Regions from separate parts of the Homo sapiens genome. Here all the other regions are linked to region 5. Evidence: promoter capture Hi-C in 16 types of primary human blood cells and fetal thymus (Javierre and others, 2016). All regions are on one chromosome and are shown on one strand. Each heading gives the region's core, a stretch centred on a gene start or on the middle of the fragment in contact. The rest is flanking DNA. Distances are from core to core; before and after follow the strand shown.

Region 1 (2,700 bases), core at 16-2,515, 810 kb after region 5:
CTGTGACTAACACATGTTAGATGCTTGATAAGGCATTGCTGCATGACTAATGCACCACTGTATAAGTGAACTGGGGAACTTTAAGCACATTTCACCTCCATTTTTCTTACCTGAGATGAATATTTGGATACATACTATTCAAGTGGATTGAGGGACATAATGTATTTGATCCAGATGTATGTGAAAGGTACCATAGACCAGCAAGACTACTTAACTCAATCAGAATTTTACTTTCCAATAGAATAGTGTTGTAATGATATTTTGGTGTTTGGTCTTGAGGGCTCTCTCTTGAGAGTGATCCTAAGTCAAGATAACAACTCTCTCGGAGAGTCATGATAGGGGAAATGTTAGGTTTGAGTGTGTGTTTCAGGTGAGATACAATGAGAAAATGAAACCAAAATGCGTGAAATAGAAAAAATATATATTTTGTACATGTCCCAGAGAGGTTACGGGTGCTGATGGGCTGCTGATGGAAAGTCCAGAGAAGGTGAGAAGCTCAACCAGCAGGGGCCAGCACAGGACCCAACCTGTGGGACTATGCCCCCATTAAGGTCTATTGGCGTTATCCCTTAGGCTTTTCCAACGGGGTTGTGGACTGGCTAATTGAAGAGAATATATGTGAAAGGAGGAACTTATTTACATGATTCTGAGGTTCATCATTAGATTGCTCATAGTCAGCAGCTGTGGATATGCTGAGTTTTGCATCACTGGGATGAGGAACAAGCAGAATCTATCAGAGTCACATAGGAGAGGGGAAATTATAACTAGGTCAGAGGTGACATGGCGTGCCTGGGTTTCAAATAAATTACATCAGGCCTAAAAATGAATGCTGAGGCAGCAACTATATTAAACAAATTTATGAACACTAAATATTTAATAAGGAATTTAATAAAGAACAAGAACCTTCGTCTGATCTTAAAATAATATTTATTCTGGTAGGACAACATAATACCTTGAAGCCCAGCTAGCGATTTTTTAAGAAGAACATATGTATTCACAGAATCAGAGCCAGCTGGCAGTGAGTAATATCAGTAAATGAAGATCCTGTTAAGACACTCATCTCAAACTCTGTAACACCAGGAGGTACAGTGTTGTATAAAGAGGTAGGGAGGGTTGGGGAGCCTGATAGCTCAGTCCCAGGGATAAACTTGGCATATCTTCCTGCTAACAATTTCACTTGAATGATGAAGATAGTGGGGAAACAGGTAAATGTTTATGCTTAGAGTTTATATCATATCCAACAAATCTGTTTTAATTCCACACAATTACTTGTTAATTTTATGTGCCAGGTTTACATTTTGATAATAAAAGGAAAACATTAACTCTTACACATCCGATCAATTCTTTACACCAAATTCTCAAATTTGATTTTTTTTCACAAATATATAATTCTGCTGTTTCATTTTCAACTTCAGTGAGTTTTCTCAGCGAATCTGTGTGATTTGCATGTAGTGACATCAGCATCGTTCTGTGTTTAGATCCTGCCCTGTCCCCCGACATTATGCACAGATATAGATGTGAAGGTGTGCTTGAAACCCACTGGAATGTCCTTCCCGAAGCCTGCTGAGTTTCTCTTCCAATGTTTCATGATGGCTTCAAATATGAATCACAGTTTTCTTATACAGTTTTGTTTCCCTGGAAGGTTTTCTTTTCTCTTCTTAAATTTTTTTGCAAATTGTGCTTTCATCTTATTCCTCCTCATCTTCTTCTTCTTCTTTTTTCTTTTTTTTTTTGAGAGAGTCTTGCTCTGTCACCCAGGCTGGAGGGCAGTGGCGCAATCTCGGCTCACTGCAACCTCTGTCTCCCAGGGTTGAGACAATTCTTGTACCTCAGCCTCCTGGGTTGTTGGGATTACAGCTGCTCACCATCACGCCTGGCTATTTTTGTGTGTGTGTGTGTGTGTGTGTGTGTGTGTGTGTGTGTGTCTATTTTTATTAGAGATGGTGTTTTGCCGTCTTGGCCAGGCTGGTCTCAAACTCCTGACCTCAAGTGATCCTCCTGCCTCAGCCTCCCAAAGTGCTGGGTTTACAGGCCAGAGCCACTGCGCCCAGCCTACTTATGCCTCTTGTTTCTACATTTCCAACCTTACTATCTGTTCTGATTTATCCCTTTTTAGGGGGTGATCATTCTTTTCATTCTTTTAACCCAATACAGATTATTTGCCCTGTAAAATGGCTTCATTAACAACATTCTCTAGACTTCCTGTTTCTACTGCCCTGTATTGATCTCACCACTTTCTGGTGGTCATGTCATCTTTTTTTTTTTATTTTCGTGTATGCTGGAGTACATTCTCAAGGAACTTCCTAAGAGTGTATGTGAGAAATAAACTTCATTCTTATCTTCCCTGACAATTTGGCTGTGTATAAAATTCTGGGTTGGAAACTGTTTGTCCCTTACATCTTGGAAATCCTTTCTCTGTTGTTTTCTGGCATCCAGTGTTCCTGATGTATTTGAAGATACCCTAACCTCTCCATAAGACTGTAGGTTCTTTGTTTTATCATTAGTGTTCTATTTTTTTTTTTTTTTTTTTTTGACTTGGGGTCTTTCCTTGTCACCCAGGCTGAAGTGCAGTGGTGCCATCTCAGCTCACGGCAACCTCCACCTCCCAGGTTCAAGCAATTCTTCTGTGTCAGCCTCCCAAGTAGCTGGGATTACAGGCATCCACCACCATGCCCAGCTAATTTTTGTGTTTTTAGTGGA
Region 2 (2,700 bases), core at 130-2,629, 780 kb after region 5:
TAAAAAAATACAAAAATTAGCTGGGTGTGGTAGTGTATGCCTGCAATCCCAGGTACTTGGGAGGCTGAGGCAGGATAATTGCTTAAACCCAGGAGGCAGAGGTTTCAGTGAGCCGGGATCCAGCCTGGGCAACAGAGCAAGACTCCATCTCCAAAAAAAAAAAAAAAAATTCCAAGAAGTCACAGGTGAGGAAGCCATAAGACAACATCCTTTTTCTCTGTGAGAGAAAAAAAAAAGTGACTTTTAAAGTGCACTGAGTCTGCTGAGTACTTGTGAATAATTTCAGAACTGAGACCCTATAGCACTCTTGGAGCTGCTGAGCCAGCTGCCATCCCCGCACCCCACCTCACCAACTCCCTGGCTTCCCCCACTTGTGCCAGCACTGCCAGGTGGCACTCAGAGAGCCTCCAGGGGTGTGTCTCCGGACCTGCCATTACCTACAGGAAGGGGCTTACATAGACCAGGGAAAGCCAACCCTGCCTTTTCAAAGGAACTTCATGCAGCCTGGGGACTTTTTTGACTTCTGTGAATTGTATCATCAGCTTTCCTGGTTCTCAGGGGATAACTATCTATCTTCTACAGAAAAATCTTTCTTTTCTATAGAGAGAACAATGCTTTCTCTCTCTCTCTCTCTCTCTCTCTCTCTCTCTCTCTATATATATATATATATATACGTATATATATATATGTATATATATATATACGTATATATATATATATATATATATACGTATATATATATGTATATATATATATATACGTATATATATATATATGTATATATGTATATATATCTTTATATAGAGAGAGGTAGATACTTATTATATATATAATCCCTCTTTACATGTTCCTCAGTTGGGCCCTGAGCACTACAGCTTGTCTCCTTTATCTGGAAGCTGATTGCATGCCTCCCCTCTCTCCCTGGCACAGCAGCTGGGAGCAACTTGCACATGACCAGGCTTTATCATTTTACATTGGAAATAATATGTTTCCATCCAGGATTTCAGTGAAGCTTCATGTTCAATCTTTTGGGAAGTCAGGACAGGGGGAAATGTTGTTAGTTTTTTCTTAACCAGAAGAACATAGAAGCCAGAAGAGACAGTACTAAGCTATTGTCCCCTAAACCAGTTTCTGGTGGAGAAAAGTGAGGCTCAGGGAGGTAAAAGTGTCTGCCTCAGTTGGTTCATCAGCGCCAGTGGCAGTGCTCTAAGGAGACGCCAGGCCTCCGGTAACCACTCAGTGTCAGAAGTTCAGGCAGCAACAGGTGCATGAGGAAGGAGTGGGGACATTCCAGAAATGCAGCTGTCAGGAATTTTTTAAATTGTTTTCCTTTCCTCTTGGGCCAATCATTGGGTATTTACATTCACTGTGGTCACCTGAGCCAGGTACCGCAATTGCATGTCCTGGAGTAGAAACTGATGTGATACCCAAGACTAACACTTAGTTCCTTCTTTGCCTTTAAGTACTAAGTGGATCTGTGATTTTAGGCAAGTGATTGTCCCTTTCTGGGCCTGTGGTTTTTTTGTTTGTTTTACTTTTTTGTTTTTTAATTATCATGACCAAAAGTCTTTTATTATTAACAACAATTGCACACTTTTTGTTGGGAAAAAAGGTATACAAATTATAAAACAGTTAACAATGTTTCCTTAAGGAGAGAAGTGTTAATGCTCTTCTCTAATTATGCTTTTAATGGTATTTTGTTCTATTTTTTTATTTTCAATAGCTTCTTTATTTCCCTTGGGATATTGAAGCTTTACTTAATCTTATTCTTTCTAAGTAGGGTAGAGAATTCCTGTTTCAAGTCTCCACAAAACAAAATCCCTTTTCTTGACATAGTAGAAAGGACAGGTGCTTGGATGTTTGGTTGGCAGGGGAAAGGAAAGAGTCCAGGTGCTACTGATAGAAATATTCAACCAAATCCTCCAGTTTTCGACTCCACCACTCACTGTGGTGCCTTCCTCAAGACCTTGGAGCTCCAAGTCTCTGAAGAATATTTCAGGCAATGAGAGGAGTCCCTGACTAAGGTAAAACCCTCCTCTCTGTCTCTTTCTGTGTGCGTGTATATGTATGTATATGTATATGTATATGTATATGTATATACATATACATATTCTATTGCTGCTTCCTCCTTAAACTCCACTAGAATAACAATGAAAGGTATTTAACATATTAATCCACCAATGTGAATAGTTGAGAGATGCCAACAATTTGAAAGATGGAAAAGAGGTCTGCAAATGCTCATTGTCGTAGCACAGCTGAGAAAGCTCACTGAGGCGCTGAGAGTGAGATGCGAAGGGACGGCCAGTGCAACACGGGCCTGTGTGTTTTTATGGACAGTATGAAGGTATTGAAACTGATCAGTAGTCTTCAAACATTTTCTTTCTTTCTTTTTTTTTTTTTCTTTTAGCAGGGAGATCTATTTCTCAAGTGAAAGGTAACTGAAACTGTCATGCATGAAACAAGCCCAAGCAAGCAGCTGCAGTTGCATGGTCAGCTGAGCCAAGGGCAGAGAGATGAGCCAGATGGGCTTCCCGCCCCTGGAGGGAGCCCCCATCCCCAGAGGGCAGACTCTGACACTCCTTCCCAGGTTCTTGGGGCATCACCAAAAAGAGTGGAAATCCCTACATGTTTTATCTCCAAGGGTCTCTAACCTTCTGTAACACTGCTCTGTGAATGCAATGAGACCATGTAAGAAAAGCA
Region 3 (2,700 bases), core at 57-2,556, 700 kb after region 5:
ATCAAGGGAGTGAAATAGCTGTCACAAGAGTGGGTTTCTTTTAAAAGTGAGTTCAGCATATTTTGCTCTCTTGCTCTCACCCTCCCTTGCTCTTCCACCTTCTGCCATGGGATGATGCAGAATGAAGGAGTGCAGAGCGTCCATGGCCTCTCTGGGCTTGCTATCCTCCCAGCACCCTCAAATGTTCATCAACTTGGAAACTCTGAACTCTGTCCGTTTGGGTTTTTATGGTCACACCATTAAGTAGGTATGGCTGATTAAATCATTGACCATCGGTGATCAACTCAATCTTCAGCCCCCCTTCACCTGCTTCCTTCAGGGAGATCAGAAGTGAGGGAGTGTGGCAGCTAGGGCTGAAAGCTCAGACCTTTTAATCATGTGGTTGTTTCCCCTGGCAACCACCTCCCATCCTGTGGTTATCCAGGAGTTTTACAAAAGTCATCTCATCGGCCGGGCGCGGTGGCTCACGCCTGTAATTCCAGCACTTTGGGAGGCCGAGGCGGGTGGATCATGAGGTCAGGAGATCGAGACCATCCTGGCTAACAAGGTGAAACCCCGTCTCTACTAAAAATACAAAAAATTAGCCGGGCGCGGTGGCGGGCGCCTGTAGTCCCAGCTACTCGGGAGGCTGAGGCAGGAGAATGGCGTGAACCCGGGAAGCGGAGCTTGCAGTGAGCCGAGATTGCGCCACTGCAGTCCGCAGTCCGGCCTGGGCGACAGAGCGAGACTCCGTCTCAAAAAAAAAAAAAAAAAAAAAAAAAAAAAGTCATCTCATCAATGTTAACTCAGGTGTGGTGGAAAGCGGCCTGTTGTGAATAACAAAAGGCTCCTTTCTGTGCTTTATTGCTTTTATCCCTTAGGAAATTCCAAGAGTTTTAGAAGTTGTATGTCAAGAACAAGGTGAAGACCAACATAGGGATGGTTCTCAGCTTACAGTGATTTGGCTTACTATTTTCTGACTTTGTGATGGTAGCAGAAGCAATACAAATTCAGTAGAAACCATATTTCCAATTTTGAATTTTGATATCTTCCTGGTCTAGTGATATTCAGTAAGACACTCTCTAGCAAGGCTGAGCAGTGGCAGCGAGCAGTAGTTCCCATTCAGCCACGTGCTCACTGGGCTAAACTGACACTTGGTATCGTCCTGAAGAACACTATTGCTGCTGACCCATAAACAAGTGTCCGTGTTCCAGTGCCTTCTATCGGCTCTTCTTAAGCCTCACTGGAAGAGAGAGAAATTGATGACCCTGTGGCTGTAGCACCCCCATCATTCAAAAATTAATTTTAGTTCAATTCTTCAAACATATTTCAGGCCCAGTGTGCTTTCAGCTGTATGTGCTAGTGGTGGGTACTCATACAACCATTCTGTTTTTCACTTTCAGTACAATATTCAATAAATGACATGAGATATTCAACATTTCATTCTAAAATAGGCTTTGTGGTAGGTTATTTTGCCCAACTTTAAGTTAATGTAAGTGTTCTGTGCATGTTTAAGGTAGGCTAGGCTTATCTATGATGTTAAATAGATTAGCATATTAAATGCATTTTTGATTTACAGTATTTTCAACTTATCAAGATATTTCAATAAATCAGATTTATTGGGATATAACTCCATTGTAAGTCAAGGAGCATTTGTACATAGTTCTTACTATACCACTATATCACATTTGCCCATGGCTTGGACTTATGTAAATGGTTACCATTAGAAGCACAATAAAATTTCATTGATTTTTAGATGTATTGGCCTTGACATTCATGATGGTACAATGATATCTGAAGGGCTGTTCCATTGTCACAAGTGAATTCCTATTTACAGACCCTTTGAATCCACCAACAAAAAGTGTATTAAAAGATCAATGAATATGTATGTGTTGAATATCTACTGCATGCCTGGCTATGCTCATAGCCTTCAAGAGCCACAACAATTCCTGAAACAAAATCATACTCCCATTTAACATATCAGCCAACTGACCCTCTTGAATGGTTAATCAAATTTGCCCAGCATTACCCAGATTTTAAGTGATGATGCCAAAATTTAAAACCTCGTTTTCTAACTGAGAGGGAAATAAACAGATAAACAGAGAAGAAAATGTAAATCACAGACGAATTGGATACTTGAAGTGCATATCAGAAATAGGTACAGTCTTTAATTGTGTGGAAAATGTAAATTGCTACTAAAGATAGAACTTCCAAATTAAAGAAAGTAGAAATAGAGTCTGCCATATATTGTCTTTTGAGTGCTGCGAACAGCTTTTAATATCCAGTGTTAAATGTCTCAGCAATAGTCTTTTATGTCTGATGAATTGTCTAAGAGGTTTTGCAGGTCTGTCAGGGTTTGTGCTTTCATATAACACAAAGTTTTCCAAGCTGACTCCAGCCTGTAATTTGTTCTAAGTGTATCTTTTCTTCACATGGTTTGGTTGAGCCATAAAAACATTCAGAGGAAGCAACATAGTGTGCACGCCTGGATTCTACTTGTAGAATAAATTGATTTATGCAAAATCACTTAATCACCATCACATGGGATCAAAAGAGGAGTGAACTGGCCACATTCCTTAGGTCAAAATAGTTGAAATTACATAGCAAGCCCAAGGACTTATAATAATGATAACTTACATTTGTATAATGAACACTAATATCCTGAAAGCTTACACTTACATTAATCTCCCTTTTTAAGTATGACCACATAACCATTAAGCA
Region 4 (2,710 bases), core at 118-2,617, 720 kb after region 5:
AGGTTCAGAGAAATGAAGTCTTGTGTCTAGAAAGTTAGAGGAGGTGAAAGGATTCAAACTCAGTCTAAACAAAGCCAGGAACTTCACTGTCACTTTCACTTTTCTTGGCAATGTCTGGAGTTAGTGAGCAAGTTATTAATGAACTTGGCTCTACTTCTTTGGTCCTGTTGAATAGTTGTGCCTTGCACCAATTCTTTGATGAAGGACAGAATTTCTGTGAAGGCCCAGACTTGCTAAGATGGGCAAAATGAACCTCCGATGGGTTAATAGGTCCCAAAGGGAGACCCAGCTACCCCTCCATTTACTTCCCTTTATCAGGGAGGCTGTTTTCTGGGTGTTATGGTGAAAACCCAAGGCCTGAGTTTCATGAATTGAAAAGATTAAGGTCCTTCCTATCAGCAACAGTAAGCTTCCTCGAGTCCCACTGTGAAGACAGTAGCCACATGCCAGGCATGGGAAACCCAAGGGAGATTCCACAGAATCTTCCAGATGGAGGCTTCCCTTGCACTTGGAATTAAATCTAAACTCCTTTCCAAGGAGGCCTTTCCTGCAAATGGAGGTCTTGCCTTGCTCTACTCTGTCCCCTCGGGCCTGGCATGATTTCTGGTATATAGCACATACTAGACATTTTGTTTGCTGAATGAACTTGTCAAATGCAGTAGACAGGCAAATAGCTGGAAGGTACTGGGAACATATTTTAACACAGTAGGAAGAGAAACTTTAAGGGTTTGAAACTTCTGTCTCTAGAGAGTCAAGCAGAAACCAGATGTTGAAAGGGGGACTCAGCATTTCTAATCGTGATTGGGCGACATCACCTGAGAGCCTAGAAAATATTTGGATTAAAAAAGAGGGGAAGCAATGAAATAACCCTTCAAAAATATTTTCATTTTCTCCTTATGTCTCCTTATTACATAATTCACATCATGACCTAGATTTCAAATGTAATTAACTGTAATATATTCTCTCAGTCCCACTACTGGAACATATTCATAGATGAAATGAAATAACTAGGATATTTCACAAGAGGTACATTTAATGAATCTGGAACAGCGATGCCTGCCATCTGTCTGTCTGCAGGACACCTTCACAGCCCCTCAATGAGAGATGGTGACACACTGTCACAGGCAGGAATCTCCTCTAGGGTAGCAGGGATGATCAAAGCATACAACCACAATTCACTTATGGGATTTAACAAAAGGGTTAGAAGGAAAGAGATTACCTGCTGAGCACTCACTGGGTGCCAGGTGGTAAGCACTTGGGTATAAATTATTTCTTCTAATACTTGCAACAATACAAGAGGTGGTTGTTCTCATTTTATTTTATATTTTTAAGCAATAAAAAGGTGGTGGGGAGTAGTAGATGAGCAAAGAATCTTTTGCAATCAGGTAAATCCAAGCTAGAATTCTTACTGCTAACTGACCTCAGTAAATGTCTAACCTCTCTGGGTCTCCACATTCCCCTCTGCAAATATGAGCTTAAATCTACTTGATAGGGGTGTCATCATAATTAAATAAGATGACCCATGCCAAATACACGGCACAGTGTCTGGCACACAGTTATTCAACAAATGTTAATGGCCTGCCTTTCATATTCATATCTGCCATGACAGAAATGGATACATGCTGTTAAGGTTAAATGACCTCCTCAAGGTCACAGAACCAGGAAATATCAAAACTAAAATATTCCACTGGCCATCCTCAAAGCCCACGGTGTGCTTTTGTCCCCTTTGAATGGTGATGCTTCCCCTTGGGCAGTGGGGAGTGCATTCCAGGCAAGGGAGAGCTTACTTAAAACCACAATGAGATAGAAGTGTGAGATTTATTATACTGTTATGCGAGAACTGCTTCTTTCCAAGAATCCCATGGTGTTGAGTGATTTAATTTTCTGGAACGTACTGAAACATGAGAAACACAGGTTGAACAACAAAACTGTCTTTTTTTTTTTTAATCTACCAAACTTCTGGGCAATCAAAAGTATAAGATTATTTTTTCATTGTTAAGAACGAAACATGTCTTCACTTTCATCTTTGCATAGCTATGGAAGAGCACCTCACAGTGGTGTCAGATTTTCATCCTTGGCAGGTCATTTTAGAAACAATGAAATTGGAAATACGTTTAGTTTGTGCCTGTCAGCCTATGAGAGGACAGTGATATTTCAAGACCTACATAAATATTTATTTTCTTGAAATTGCCTATACATGTCAATCTTCAACAAATGTTGACATTCACTTTTGTTTGGATTTCCTTATGGTAATTGCTGTGAGGTGGGATGGGGTGAAAAGAGTTTAGGGTAGAAAGGACCGTAAGTCAGGCCACATAATGTTAATAAGCTTCCTTGGACCACATTTACTATGCAGTGGGGGATAAGTTACAGTAATTGGCCCCACTTTTTCCTTGAAAAAGAGGAGGACTATTCGAATATCTCCTCCTCTAGCCTTCTGTGCTTCCTTGAATCCTCTGCATGTCTGAGAGGTGCCATATTTACAAACGTTTAACTGGATAATAAATTGAATTCTCTGAAATTGAAGGAAGGAGATGCTTTGGCAAGCCAAGGGAGGCAGCTTGGTGTAGTCACTGGGATAAGGATTCCCATCTTGGTGTTATTTGTGAGCCTCTAAGTGCTCCTTGATAAAATGAGAATGATAAATGCAACCTGTCCCATAGGTGGTCTGAAGTCAACCCACACAACATTATTGTCCAGATCAGGTGAA
Region 5 (2,700 bases), core at 39-2,538:
CCATTCCAATCAGTCAGCCAGGAAAATCAGTTTCCTTCTGAATTCTGTTACTGACATTAGTGACTGAACAACCTTGCACATATTACTTAGAGAACTCAAGTTCTTCACCTGTAAACCAGGGAAAGTAATAGCCAGCTCTCTAGGTCAGCAGGAGCTGAAGGTAAGTAAATGCCAGTTGCCATTCCTACTTCTCTAGGGCATACTGTATCTTAAGCTTCTTAGAGGATTTCTGAAGCGCTGTCATTTCTCTGGTAGGCCTTCAATTAACCAGCTCTACCATCGTCTTCTTGATATTTGAAATGATTATTCCTGGTGGTTTGGGAGGCCCCTGGAAATCCAAAGAACAACACTATTGAGGAGCTGCGCCACAGTATAGACAGAGACAGCCAGAGAAATAGCCATGTAGGTAATAGACAAGTAATACTCATAACAGAGAAGCCAAATGAGTAACACTGGTGTAAAGTAATAAAAACAGTATTGATAAAAAGTTCAGGCATATCGACACCTTTTAAAATCAAAGTATCCATATTTTGATGATAGTTATTTTCTTTTCTGTCTCATTCCAGTTTGTTTGCTTTATCCAATAAAAGCCTGGTAGAGATGACTCCCGGCACTTTTCAAGAGTAAGAATTTAACCCCAACTTTAACCTCACTTTTGAGCTCCTTACTCTTGTGAGTGGAAGGATGTCTGCGTGATTCCAAAGTCTAAGTCTCCTCTACACCAAAGCAGAAAGAAAATCGTATTACTTTAGAAAATGTTAAAAATATATTTCCACAGGGCTCCAGGAGTTAACTTATACTTTGAATGACCTACTTTGAATGGAGGCTTTCTTTCTAGAGGGCTTACTTAATGAAGGTCAGCCAGGAAAGCCAGCCATGGGGCCTGGTCTTTAGATTTCAGTTGCAAACAGTCGGGGAGTCCAAGCTCCAGGAAAAGAAGATTGAAAACATTTAGTCTTTTAATTTTCTGTGGGTAGGTATCCTGATTCTTTCTCCCAAAAGAATGAAAGGATCTTTAACAATTGAGTTAAGGGCTTTCTTCTTGCTCCTTTGATGCTATATATAAGGCCCAGACTTCCACTTTAGAAACACATTTTTACTTGCTGCTCAGGTCTTTCCTGATGATCATTTATGACAAGGAGATGACCATGAGATCCTCACTCAGAAGAACTGGCCTAATGAGTTTACCTGAACAGCGTGGAGAGCACCAAGGGATCTAGGCTGAGGTGTCCGTCTCCTGTGAGGAGGGGCGGCAGTGCAGAGACCTTGGGGCACTGGAAATTAGTAAGGCGGTGGGTTGAATTCTTCTCGATGCTAAGCAGTGCCCTTCAGCAGAAAACCTCCTGATAGGTCCGTTTTAGACTTGGTTTCCTGTGAAATGCAGCCACAGACCTGAGAGGTCTGACCTGAGGGCTGGCAGGACTTCCTCTTCTTAGGCTGGAGTGCAATACGTGAAGCTTTCAGAGGCTGAAATCTTCCAATGCAAAGGGTGTTTTTAAAGACACACGGTGTCCTTATGTGGCACTTCATAGTTACCAGAACACAATAAAAGGAACTGCTGGGCAACACTCAAGCATGGAAGGTGGGTTTTGCGAGTCTCACTTTATATGAATAGTGGACATTAACTATCATCTTTTGGCTTAATTTTGCAATGGCTTCCTGAGACCATCCCAGACACATGGACCAGGTGTTAAGGAAAGAACCTGGGAACTAAAGGAGAAATGCCTGCCTCTTATTCTTGCTGTATTAATTATTAGCTATAGGATCTTGGGCACTTTGAAGTTTATTTCTCAAGTAGTTTGAGTGATAATAATATTTGTATTTTAGAAACTTTTTTAAAAAATGAGGGATAATTGAGGATTATATTTCCTTCATTGAGGAAATGATATTTCCTCAATTGTGATGGAAGGATAATATTTATATTTTAGAAGTATTTCAATAAATAAACAAAATATTGTAAATAAAGGCATGCAGTAATGTTTGGGCACATATCAGTTGCTTAATACATTTTCTTTCGGCCTTAATCTTGGTCCATTTAAGCTGATCTTGCCGAGTGCCTGTTTCCTCTTCTGGAGACTTGACATTCTAGTTTTATATAAATTGATGTTGAATTCCATAACAAACTCCAACATTATTTACAATAAATTCAAAGGTAGAAGTTTATATTTTCTTGGGTAAATAACTCTGGTTTTGACTTAACAGACACCCCAAGGAAAACATGAAAATAAGCACTCTTTGAATGCTAATTGTGAGTCAGTTACATTGCTAAGCAACTTGCAAGCATTATCCTCCTTAATCTTACTAATAACCATGTAAGGAACATATGTAAAATCCCATTTTGTAATTGTGAAAACTGAAGACTAGGGAGACTCGAGTAGTTTAACCACTTTATTAATTAGCTTTTGCTGCATTAGGGGCTTAAAGCAGTAACCACTTTATTTAGTTCATAATTGTGTGTGTCACTTGCTCACTTCTTTTGGTCTGGACCCATATTAATTTTCTGGGGTTTTCATAACAAAGGACTGAGCCCTGAGTGGCTAACAAAACAGAAGGTCAAATTGTATTGTCTCACAGTCTGGCCTCTGGAAGTCTGAGATCAAGGAGTCGGCAAGGTTGGATCCTCCTGAGAGCCATGAGGAGAAGATCTGTTCCAGGCCTTTATCCCCGGCTTGTGGGTGTCTTTGTATCCTTGTTTTTGTG

Evidence for each region. The method cuts DNA at HindIII sites, captures the fragments that hold promoters and counts their contacts. A CHiCAGO score of 5 or more calls a contact.
Region 1: a contact is called between a fragment that was not itself captured here and the fragment with the promoter of CLNK in region 5, in 1 of 17 cell types (naive B cells). The highest score is 5.8, in naive B cells.
Region 2: a contact is called between a fragment that was not itself captured here and the fragment with the promoter of CLNK in region 5, in 2 of 17 cell types (total B cells and naive B cells). The highest score is 11.2, in total B cells.
Region 3: a fragment that was not itself captured here is called in contact with the fragment with the promoter of CLNK in region 5 in 1 of 17 cell types (total B cells); the score reaches 5.7 in total B cells.
Region 4: a fragment that was not itself captured here is called in contact with the fragment with the promoter of CLNK in region 5 in 2 of 17 cell types (total B cells and naive B cells); the score reaches 9.9 in total B cells.

Annotation. Positions count from the first base shown.
Region 1 is chr4:11,488,839-11,491,538 of GRCh38, forward strand. No RefSeq gene overlaps it. Among named protein-coding and RNA genes, the nearest start is that of HS3ST1, 61 kb to the left of the region's middle. The HindIII fragment of the contact is 3,384 bases long and covers 1-2,700 here.
Region 2 is chr4:11,467,808-11,470,507 of GRCh38, forward strand. No RefSeq gene overlaps it. Among named protein-coding and RNA genes, the nearest start is that of HS3ST1, 40 kb to the left of the region's middle. RefSeq lists an enhancer at 2,375-2,564. The HindIII fragment of the contact is 739 bases long and covers 1,011-1,749 here.
Region 3 is chr4:11,387,545-11,390,244 of GRCh38, forward strand. No RefSeq gene overlaps it. Among named protein-coding and RNA genes, the nearest start is that of MIR572, 20 kb to the left of the region's middle. The HindIII fragment of the contact is 2,677 bases long and covers 1-2,645 here.
Region 4 is chr4:11,404,924-11,407,633 of GRCh38, forward strand. All of the region lies in intron 1 of HS3ST1 (heparan sulfate-glucosamine 3-sulfotransferase 1), which reads right to left. Among named protein-coding and RNA genes, the nearest start is that of HS3ST1, 23 kb to the right of the region's middle. The HindIII fragment of the contact is 1,920 bases long and covers 408-2,327 here.
Region 5 is chr4:10,683,480-10,686,179 of GRCh38, forward strand. It overlaps CLNK (cytokine dependent hematopoietic cell linker), which reads right to left and starts at 1,289. Exons shown (of 19, transcript NM_052964.4): 1 at 1,189-1,289. The HindIII fragment of the contact is 1,243 bases long and covers 213-1,455 here.